Regions from separate parts of the Homo sapiens genome. Here region 1 is linked to region 2. The links are contacts of gene promoters, found by promoter capture Hi-C in human tissues and cell types (Jung and others, 2019). All regions are on one chromosome and are shown on one strand. The core of a region is centred on a gene start or on the middle of the fragment in contact, and the rest is flanking DNA. Distances in the headings are between cores, read along the strand shown. Region 1 overlaps LINC03005 (long intergenic non-protein coding RNA 3005). Region 2 holds the start of PRL (prolactin).

Region 1 (5,179 bases), core at 2,492-4,991, 400 kb before region 2:
CACCTCGTTCTCTCTCTCTCTCTCTTGCTCCTGCTTTTGCCACATGAGAGCCTGCTCCCCTTTTGCCTTCTGCCATGATTGGAAGCTTCCTAAAGCCTACCCAGAAGCAGATGACACTATACCTCCTGCACAGCCTGCAGAACCATGAGCCGATTAAGCCTCTTTTCTTTATAAATTACCCAGTCTCAGGTGTTTCTTTGTAGCAATGCAATAATGGCCTAGTACAATAACTACTCAGAGATTATGAGTAATGATGCTTGTGATAACATCTGGAAATTATTTTGGTATCCTGGACCCCCTAATCTCAGTCTAAAGACAGGAACACATTTAAAAAAAACAGATGTTATTTAAGTATCTCTCTCTTTGGATCTCCTTGGATCCAATTTCCTCTTTACCATGTTTGTTATACCCATTTTTAATCTGAGGATCATTCTCTTGAAGAAAGAAGAAAAACCACTGTAATCTTCGCTTGCTCAGTGTCATTTTCAAATATTATATACAGCCTGCCTTTCACCTACCTTCTCTTTGTTCTAAATGTACATTAGAAAGTGCTTTAGTTATCCTTAACATTTTTGTGCATTCCTTGGCTTTCTCCCTCATGACATTATTCATCATGCTCTGTGCCATGTCTCCTTTCCCATCCTTGTTCATGGACCCCTTCTGTACATGTCATCCCATTCCCAAAGAACCTCTTCATTCAACTGGACTAAGATTACAATTTGGGGGATTTTCTCTAGGCTTAAAATCAACAAAATAACCCAGATCTCTTCACTTTCATTGTTGTAAAGATGGATTCTCAACATCCTCCCACAAGCACTTTAAGTCGTTATATCCAGGATGAAGCAATTTTCTTTTTCTCCTTCACTACTTAACCTCTTGTAACTCTTATCCTGGTTAATGCTATTTCCATCTAACTAGTTACCCCAGGCAGGAACCAGAAGGGATCTTTGACTGATTTTCCCTCCTAGGCTTTATATCCAATCACTCAGCAAATCCTTCCATTGCTCTCAAATCCATCTCTCCCCCTCCATCCTCACTGCCCCTGACTCAGTTTAGGTCAGTACCATTCTTTTTTCCTGGAGGATTGCAATCATCTCCTTGGTAAGGTGCTCAATGCCAGGTAAGTTTCTCTATAAACTCCCCTCTACATTGTCAGTATAATATAACCTTCCTAACACACATACTGCATATGATGCCTATACTGTTCAAAAACTATACATGGTTTCTTATCAAACACAATATAAAAATGAATGAACTATCAATCCTTGCTTCTGCTCAGCCTTCCAACCTCTAGGCTCCTCATACTACTGTCCTGTACCCTGTACTTTTATCTTTTCCTTGAATCCCCATCCACCGGACATCTTTGCAGAAATTTTATCATTCTTCAAAATTTCAGTAAATTCTCTGGTTTTCTTTTAAATTGTTTATGATTCACAAAGTTAAATTTGGCACTTCTTCCTTTACCAGTGGACCATGTAGATGCTTCTATTATTACTACTCATTAAACTGTATGACAGGTATTTGTTTGCATGTCCATTTCCTGGGATAGGCTATGAAATCATGGAAGGTAGGACATAGCTTGATCATATCTGAATCCACTCCTGATACACATGTGCCAGGGTGGCAGGTAGAATAATGCACATTCCCCTACCTCCAAAAATTTCCATATCCTAATCCCCACAGCAAGTGAATATGTTGCACCACATGGCACATGGGAATTGCAGATAGAATGAAGGTTGCTAATCACCTGATTTTTAAGAATAGGGAGATTATCTCAAATTATCTAGGGGAGACAATGTAATCACTATGCTCCTTAGACGTGAAAGAGAGAGGCAGAAGAGAAGGTCAGAGTCCCTCAGAGGAACTCAACAGGCTCTTGCTGTCTTGGAAGACAGAGGAAGGGGCCACAAGCCCAGGAATACAGGTGGGTCCTAGAAGGTGGAAAAAGCAAGGGCCCGAATTATCCTCTACGGCCTCTAGAAAGGACTGAAGCCCTGCCGACACCTTGAGTTTTGCCAGTGAGATCTGTGTTGAATTTCTGACCTCCAAAGTGGTGTCTGAGATAAGAAATGTGTGTTGTTTGAAGCTACTAAGTTTGTAGTAATGTGTTACAGCAGCTGTGGGAAAGAAACTACAACATAAATTTCATGAGTAAGTTGGTAAATTGGTTTCAAGTGGATTTTTCGCCTAATTCAGGTAATTTTCAGGCAAGCATCTACTGATAAAGTATGTATTTAGTATAATGGGGCAAAAGTATTTTAGGGGGCTAAAGTCCTATTAGCATATTGAATACACACACATGACTTATTTAGTTAAATAAGGAAAATCAGATATTTTTCAAGCAGGTAGATTTCACATTCACTTTATGTCCTTTTATGAATGTTGTTGCTTTTTTTTCATTCCCTTAGGATTTTTTTTTTAGAATTAAAAAGAAAATTATATTCTGTTGAGTTCACTGTAAGAAAAAATCCTTGATATTGAAGTGCATTTCTGGGAGAAATATTATTTGCATTTCCCAAGTATGCTGAGAATTCTTGGCTCCTTTTACCCAGATTTTCAGTGTGGCTGACTTCTGAACCCCATTATCCCAGTCGGGGGCACTTATTTTCAGAGGAGCGTTAGGTGGGTACCACACTTCCGAAGTTTCTAGGGAGAAAAGTATTTGTTTTCCTTGAGGCTAAAGACTCAATTTGTTACTTAGTTTTTCACTAACTTCATGAATCTAAGACCTAGGGTGGAGAACAGAAAAAGTGATTCCATTCAGTGAAATAGACAAATACACCAGAATAAGAAATAGTGTTAAAATGTTGGATGTGATCCCCAAAGCAAGCAATGCTGTCATTATCATAATAGTCTACCTCTCTCACATTGCTGTGAAGTATAAAACACAGCAAAGTACCTACCTTTAATTAGCCATATTTAGTATTTTTTATGGCCACTGAACATGGTACTCATATTACCATATATTAGCGTATAATTTGCATATATACCTTAAGGTATTTGGTTTTATTGCTGTTACCTTTTGTGGCCCTATTTCAGTAATGACTCTAATGGAATACAACGATATTTCTGACTCAATACACTTTACAAGCTTGGGAGTTTTACAATGGAAAGTTCTGTTTAAATATAAAATTCTTCCAAAAAATGTCTGTGCATTCTGAATATGGTCAATGGGCATAGGTACTTATCTGGCAAATCTCTAATAGGTGCCCAAGTAAAAGTATTTACCTTCATTCTGAGCTCAATAAAGATATATTTTATAAGTAAAGCTTGAGGTACACATTGTTTCATGTTTGCTTAAAAGAAAGTCACACACACAATTTAAGGAATCTTACCAGTCTATCAGCAGCTAAAGGTCCCAAGAAAGAAAAATAACAGCTGCAGCTAGAGAATTTGGAGAAAGGTCAGAGGTCAGTGCCTGCATCTGCATTCACTGGGAGACAGAGAGGAAAAATAAAGGGGCTCTCTTTGTGGCAAGTCAGCACTATTTTAGAAAGTGCAGATACTGACTTAATTACCAATGTTCCCTTTTGCTCTGGGGTGCTGCGGCAGGCTATAAATCAATACCTAAGGTCACATTGCTAAAAGCATGAAAAAACTCACTCTTTCTCGCACTTGGGAGCATTGTTTTCTGCTTCCTTCTCAGTGTTACTAGCGTTCGATATCAGATGGAAACAGAGGGCCGCAGTCATTACAGAGGGAATCAGAACTATGAAAGCAGATGCGCAAAGCAGGCCTTCTGAACTCCAGACAACTCTTTAACTGTGTCCAGTCTCCCGTCATTACTTGATTGTTTGTTGTTGATTAGTTTATTTGTAATCCTTACACCCTATTCTTAAGCCTAATTCAATAAATAAATGTTACCATGAATTCTGTGCTAATTTGAAACTAAAGTAAACCTTCTTTTTTTTTTTGTAATTCAAAAATAATTTCAATGTAATGTGTTTGGGACTGCTTATATATTTTTATTCATTTCTCTGTCCACATGCTATGAAATTTCCTACATCTGATTTTATAAAGGAAGGAAATGTTGCAAAAACAGTTGCTAGTCCTTTTATTGGCAACTGTCTTTGTAAACCTAGAGAGACTATAATATCTGAATAAGGTAAGATACCAAATGAGAAAATAGTCATTGCTAGGTAAAACATTCTTAAAATAGCTTACCTTGATGATCTGAAGAGTCAGAAAGGATTTCTGATGTGTATGCATCAAAGCAATCTATTTGAGATGCCACTGAGGTTTGGTTCACAGGGCACTTTGACAACATCTGCATGGGATAGCCACATCAGAATGTGGACCATTCCAATAATTGATGCTGGAATCCGATCCATCATGGATCAGATCAACCATGCATCAGGGTAATTTGGTTGTTGAGACAAATGAAATAACTACATTGATTTTGCCGGGGGAAAAATGGACCACATAATAGATGTAACATCTTTAAGTATTGAAGCTTTAGGGCTTGGTCTACACATTTAGTGTATCTATAATAGTTTACTTTTCTATGTGTATTATATGCTTTTAAATAGTTTTTGGAACTGAAAAAGGTAAAAATTATGCATATATAAAAATAATGTCAATAATTCCTGCAGAACATCCCTACTTCTCTATGTTTTTCTTCACAGTTAAAAAAAAACTGATATTTTTTCAGAGCTCTTTAACTTGGTCCAACATCCTATGTTTCTTGTACTATCTAGGCTGATACATATGAAAGGTACTTTCTTCCAAAGATCTCCAATGTAAAGATTTTACAATATGTATAAATGTCACTTGATAATTATTTTACTGAATCATATATTGTCAAGCAGTAATATCCCTTAACAGTCATCTGGTTTTGTGAAAAAAAGACAGAGGACATCACATTTTGCTGCAAAGGCTCAGCAGAAGAGAGTACTACAATTTAGTAACTAATTTGTTTGGAGGGAAAATTTCTAATAATTAAGAGGCACTACTTCCTTAGGGTGGCAAGTGTTTATTTATCTAATTATCACTGCAAAGTGTTCCACTGATAATATAAAATCTGCTACCTTTCCCAGAGTCGACAAAAGGAGATTTAACTTAAAATGAAATAATAACATATAGTAGCAACCAATATTTTCCCAGACTTCATCAGGAAAATGTGAAGTTGAAAGAAGAAATTCATTTGCTATTCTCCAATGAAAATGGGAAATAGACAGAA
Region 2 (5,327 bases), core at 2,324-4,823:
AGATAAATTAATTTTAGCAGAGTTTAAACGAGCAAAGAGACAATTAATGAATGAGGCAGCACCCTAAACGAGTAATGGTTTAGAGAGCTCCACTCTGCAAAGTGGGCAGGCAGTATTTACAGACAGAAAAATAAAATGACAAACAGAAATAGTGTCATTGATTACAGCTCCTTCTTTGCCTTATTTGGACATCTGAGCAGTTTGTAGCCTGTAACTGGCTGAAAGCTCAGCTGCTAAGATTGGCCAAGACTCAGCTACTTGTTACAAGAATATATTCTTAATTTAGGTTGCAGTTTGTTTACATACTAAGTTAGATTGCAGTTTACTGAAAATGGGGCAGCATTAGGCCAAATTCAATTCAACAATATGTATGAAGTTAATCTAAATAGTAGGATGTAATTAAGTCATTGCATTTTGCTTATTCTAAAAATAGTGCCATTCAAAAAAAACCACTATTGATCTCTTCTCCAATGTGCCCTTTACATTGTCTAATATTTTATATTGAAAACAGCACACGTCCTATTTAATTTTTTAGTCATTAGAAGACGACTATTCAGAATTTTTCAATTCATAGACAATACTCCTTTAATCATTTCATATTTCATTTTATTTAAGACAATTCACTACTAATATAAATTGAAATATCTTTGTGATACATTCATTCTGAGGATTTTTTTAACTCTTAATTTCTTTCACTCTTTAATATCCCTTAGCATATTTTGCAGTAGACACCTCCTAGGTTATGTGAAGAAATTTTTTTTTGTTTTTTTGAGATGGAGTCTCCCTCTGTCACCCAGGCTGGAGTGCAGTGGCGTGAACTTGGCTCACTGCAACCTCTGCCTCCTGGGTTCAAGCGATTCTCCTGCCTCAGCCTCCTGAGTAGCTGGGACTACAGGCGCCTGCCACCACGCCTAGCTAATTTTTGTATTTTTAGTAGATACAGGGTTTCACCATATTGATCAGACTGGTGTCGAACTCCTGATCTCTTGATCCTCCTGCCTCAGCCTCCCAAAGTGCTGGGATTACAGGCGTGAGCCACTGCGCCCGCCCTGTGAAGGATTTTAAATATACTTTGCTTCATACGTGACAGAAGAAAAAACAAAATTATTCCAAACTTAAAAACAGATAAACAAAAGAAAATACAAACTTTGTTCTAAATTAGGAATAAAAACCAACCTGATGTTACTTAATGTTAAAAACTAGCGTTCTTTAGAAAAGATGGCAACCTTGTTTATTAGTTTCAGGTACTAAACATAGCATGGGAACTTTAGCATCATTTGAGCTATTTATTCAGCTACTTGACATAAATCAATCATCACCCCTCAGTTGCATCACAAGCTCTCAGACCAAAAATGGCAAACAAATGAAGTTTTGTAAAGTTTTAAAATGTACAACCCTATTCTTACTGAACTTCTTTATTGTTTTAAATTAAGGGCACAGTTTGATAAAGAGAAAGCCTGGCAAGAAAGCACATATAAAAATTAAGGTGAAAGGGGGTAACATGCATAGCAGTTAGAAGAATTAGGACAACTATGATTTTTGCATAATATATGTCTTTGCATTATTTATATATTTCAATATTCCATTCACAGGAAATGTGGGGCTATGGAGCAGCAAGGAGACACACAATAAATTTTACAGAGAAACCTGTACCTCTTTGCAGTCAAATAAATCGACTGACAGACCCTGAATAAACACAGCTTAGGTTTTCTTAGATTGCTCTTATCCTGGCTATCCAAGAATGTTGCAACACCTTTAAATTTTAAGATTAAGTTGTCATTGTCAGTTCTTATAACAGATTTTCTTACTCTTAAGTTTATGGGAGAGGAGGAGAATATAGGATAATGTTAATTTCTCTGCCACACAGCTCTGCTTTCTTAATAATTCAGACTCTCTCCATCCAGGGAAAAAATGAATACCTAATGTGAGTATATGGAATCCTGACCCAGCTTTCAGATTGAGAGAGTCTATGAATCATCACATTTGATGTTTATGATTCAAAATGTAGGATTGCCTTAAACTAAGGCAATTAGGAAGATAGTTTTTCAGAGACGTTAGTCTTTGTTAAGATTTCTAGGTCCCCATAAGAGCACTTAGTCAGATAATTGCTAAAGCACATATGTGGCTCTAGGAACTAAGGAAAAAGTAAATGCCATAGGAAGACTATTTTTTAAATTACCTCATTCATCAGTCTATTGTAAGAGACAGCAAATTTGAAACTAAAGGTCACAGGCTGCTTTAGATGCATGGACTTAAAAATTAGAGAAAGTCATCAATAAAACTTAGTTCTTATTCATTATAGTCATTTCATTTAGGAAATTTCCAAAAGGTGAATGGAATTTTTAAGCCCATGAAAGATGAATTTTTGTCACCTTGGCCTCAGAGTGGCTCAGGGTCAGAGAAGGTAGAGAGATCATAAGTTAATAACAGTTTACACACTGCTATCCTTGAAAAGAGTGGAAATTACTGGCTAGAATTTCAGTTTATTACATGGTATACCAGAATGATGGGTGTAAGTGTGTCTGTGTGTGTGCACACACATGTGTGTTTGCCCTGGAAAACTACTGCATCACTTCCCCAAAATAAACTCTTAAATCAGGGGTTATAGCTTGTTTGTCTTAGAAGTGGGTCCACAGGATGTTTACAAGAGAATTCATTTCCCAGCCTTCCTCATATGACTCCTGATTTTCCGTGAAGTAATAATTGTTCCTTCATTTAACTCAACTATAGAATTATTAGGCTGGTGCGCAAGTGACTGCAGTTTTTACCATTTAAAAGTAAAGCCCAAAACCTCAATTACTTTTGCACTGAACTACTTCTTTCATATTCTTTACCTTTAGTCTCTCCAAGCTTCTGTTTCTTCATCTGTAAACTGGAGAGAATAATACCACTTAACACATATGTTAAAATCAAAAGAAATAAACAGATGAAGATGTACATTCAAAGTACCATACAGATACGCTATTTTTAAAAAGACAAAACACATGTATTTTTAAAAAGACAAAACAAAATGTGTATTTCAAAAAGATAAAACAAAATGTAAAAAGCAACAAAATGAAGGAAATTTAATGACAGTGTAACAGGGGACTGAAAATCCTGATTTCTCAATCCTTATTCTATATCTCTTGGTATTTAGTGTAAAAATTTTAAAATCTTTACCTAGCAATCTTGAGGAAGAAACTTGATAACTGATAATACATGAGATTGTTACCTAAGTGAAATATAATCCTATATATTCAACAAACTTTAGAGAAATAAGATAAATTTTAAAGTAAATGACTTCTGTAGTTTTATAGATCCTCCAAACCAATCTAGTCTCAGATCTCACCTTCATCATTTCTCTCATTTCCTTTTGGCCTAATTAATCAAAATCCTTCCTAGAATGTTCATTTCTGGCCAGTATGTCTTCCTGAATATGAATAAGAAATAAAATACCATTTGATGTTTGAAATTATGGGGGTAATCTCAATGACGGAAATAGATGACCAGGAAAAGGGAAACGAATGCCTGATTCATTATATTCATGAAGATATCAAAGGTTTATAAAGCCAATATCTGGGAAAGAGAAAACCGTGAGACTTCCAGATCTTCTCTGGTGAAGTGTGTTTCCTGCAACGATCACGAACATGAACATCAAAGGATCGCCATGGAAAGGTATGTGTGACAACTCACTGCGTTGTTGGTTGTATCAACACTCCTGTGGGGGGATTAATGTGAAATTTTAACTAATAACAAGAGCTTGCAGGTTTACAAGGTTTAGAAGCACAATCTTATGTTTCCTCTAGAAAGCAATTTTACAAGGGCACCATAGAACAGAACAATGGTTCTCAAACAGGGGAATCCTCTCTCAGAGGCATTTGGCAATGTCGGGAGATGTTTTGGGTTGTCTTAACTGAGGTGGGGAAGTGAGGGAAAAGTGCTATTGGTATCTAATGGATAGTGATGAGAGATGCTACTGAACATCCTTCAATGCACGGGACAGCCCCCAGAACAAGGAATTATTCAACTCAAAATGCCAATAATATCAAGATTGAGAAACTCTGGACTAGAATAAGACTCAAAGAGTCTGTGGGTCCAATTTGCCACAACTCTCAAAGGGACAAAGTAACATTTTCTGGTTATCAGGCCTCTAATGTGGATTGGCCAACTTGAATCAACCTGATGAAACTTTCAATTGTGAAGCCATAAAATAGACACTAACAACAGAATTGTCTTTCCTATTCTTTGTCAATTTGGTTCAAGCCAAATGACATTTCAAAAGGAAAAACAGACTGCCTAGTAATAACTAATCACCTTTACTTTCTTGGTTGACATTTGCAAGGAAAATAAATTAGTAACAACCATAAAATGTGTTTCTAATTAAATGAAGAACAAAAACATGTGTCTATTTTATCTCGTTTTGGGCTTTAAAAATCCTTTCCATGCTAAATGTGCAGATAAATGTACTCAGAGTTACAGAACATCTATCCAGTTGTGAATTTCCTAGACCTGCTATTCCAATTCCTCTATCTACAAAGCACATTTTATTTACACATACAGATAAAATATACATTTGGTTTCGTCATATGATTATAGTATGCATAAAATAAACTTTTTGGAAGAATCATGTTTTTGAAAAATTAAAAGTCTATAATAGGAATCATCTCAAACAAAAATTTTATTTTACAACTAACAGATTTAGTCACTTCCTACACTAAGCAATTTTTTAGGTATTTTTAAGTGTTTAGGTTTAGGTACTTTTTCACAAACTAAACTTTAGCATTTGCCTAGTTTTATCTTGGGCATTTCTGATTGCATTTCTTAAAGGTTTTGAAGGACTTAAGTTTTGTGATAAACACAGTTTTATATTGGGCATTCTTTTGGGGTAATGCCACTGAAGTTAACAAGTGATTTTAATTTGGTAGCTATCTATCGTTTCTTTCCTTTTGAAAGTATAAATTATTGATATATATAGGACTGTAACTGTCCATTTGCTGAGATAGCAAATTGATGACAAAGCTTTGAAAACCTTCAGCAAAGATCAGAGTGTTTTGTAATTAGAGCAGGAAAAGTGGAGAAAATCAAGCTTTCTGGGGCCTCTGTTGTGATGTAATCAATCAAAGGCAAAGAACTTGTTATTCTTTAAAAGTGACAGCAACAACCTATGTAAACACTGAGCCATCACGGCTACTCATGCGGCCCCCATTACACAGATGCAGATTGACAGCCCACAGGTGTACGCGATGTGACAAGACGACGTGCAAAGACCACAGTATTGGCATCATGCCTCTCTCACCCACTAATGATACGACTTGGGGAAAATCACTTAACCTCCCTAAGCCATCTGT

The links. Contacts are between HindIII fragments. The study calls those that stand out against the background at their distance.
Region 1: a contact is called between a fragment that was not itself captured here and the fragment with the promoter of PRL in region 2, in 2 of the 25 tissues and cell types used here (heart left ventricle and stomach).

What each region holds. Positions count from the first base shown.
Region 1 is chr6:22,697,712-22,702,890 of GRCh38, reverse strand. The region is part of intron 1 of LINC03005 (long intergenic non-protein coding RNA 3005); the gene reads left to right. Among named protein-coding and RNA genes, the nearest start is that of LINC03005, 18 kb to the left of the region's middle. The HindIII fragment of the contact is 4,306 bases long and covers 1,589-5,179 here.
Region 2 is chr6:22,295,282-22,300,608 of GRCh38, reverse strand. PRL (prolactin) reads left to right here and starts at 3,573. Exons shown (of 5, transcript NM_000948.6): 1 at 3,573-3,654. The coding sequence starts at 3,627. The HindIII fragment of the contact is 8,347 bases long and covers 819-5,327 here.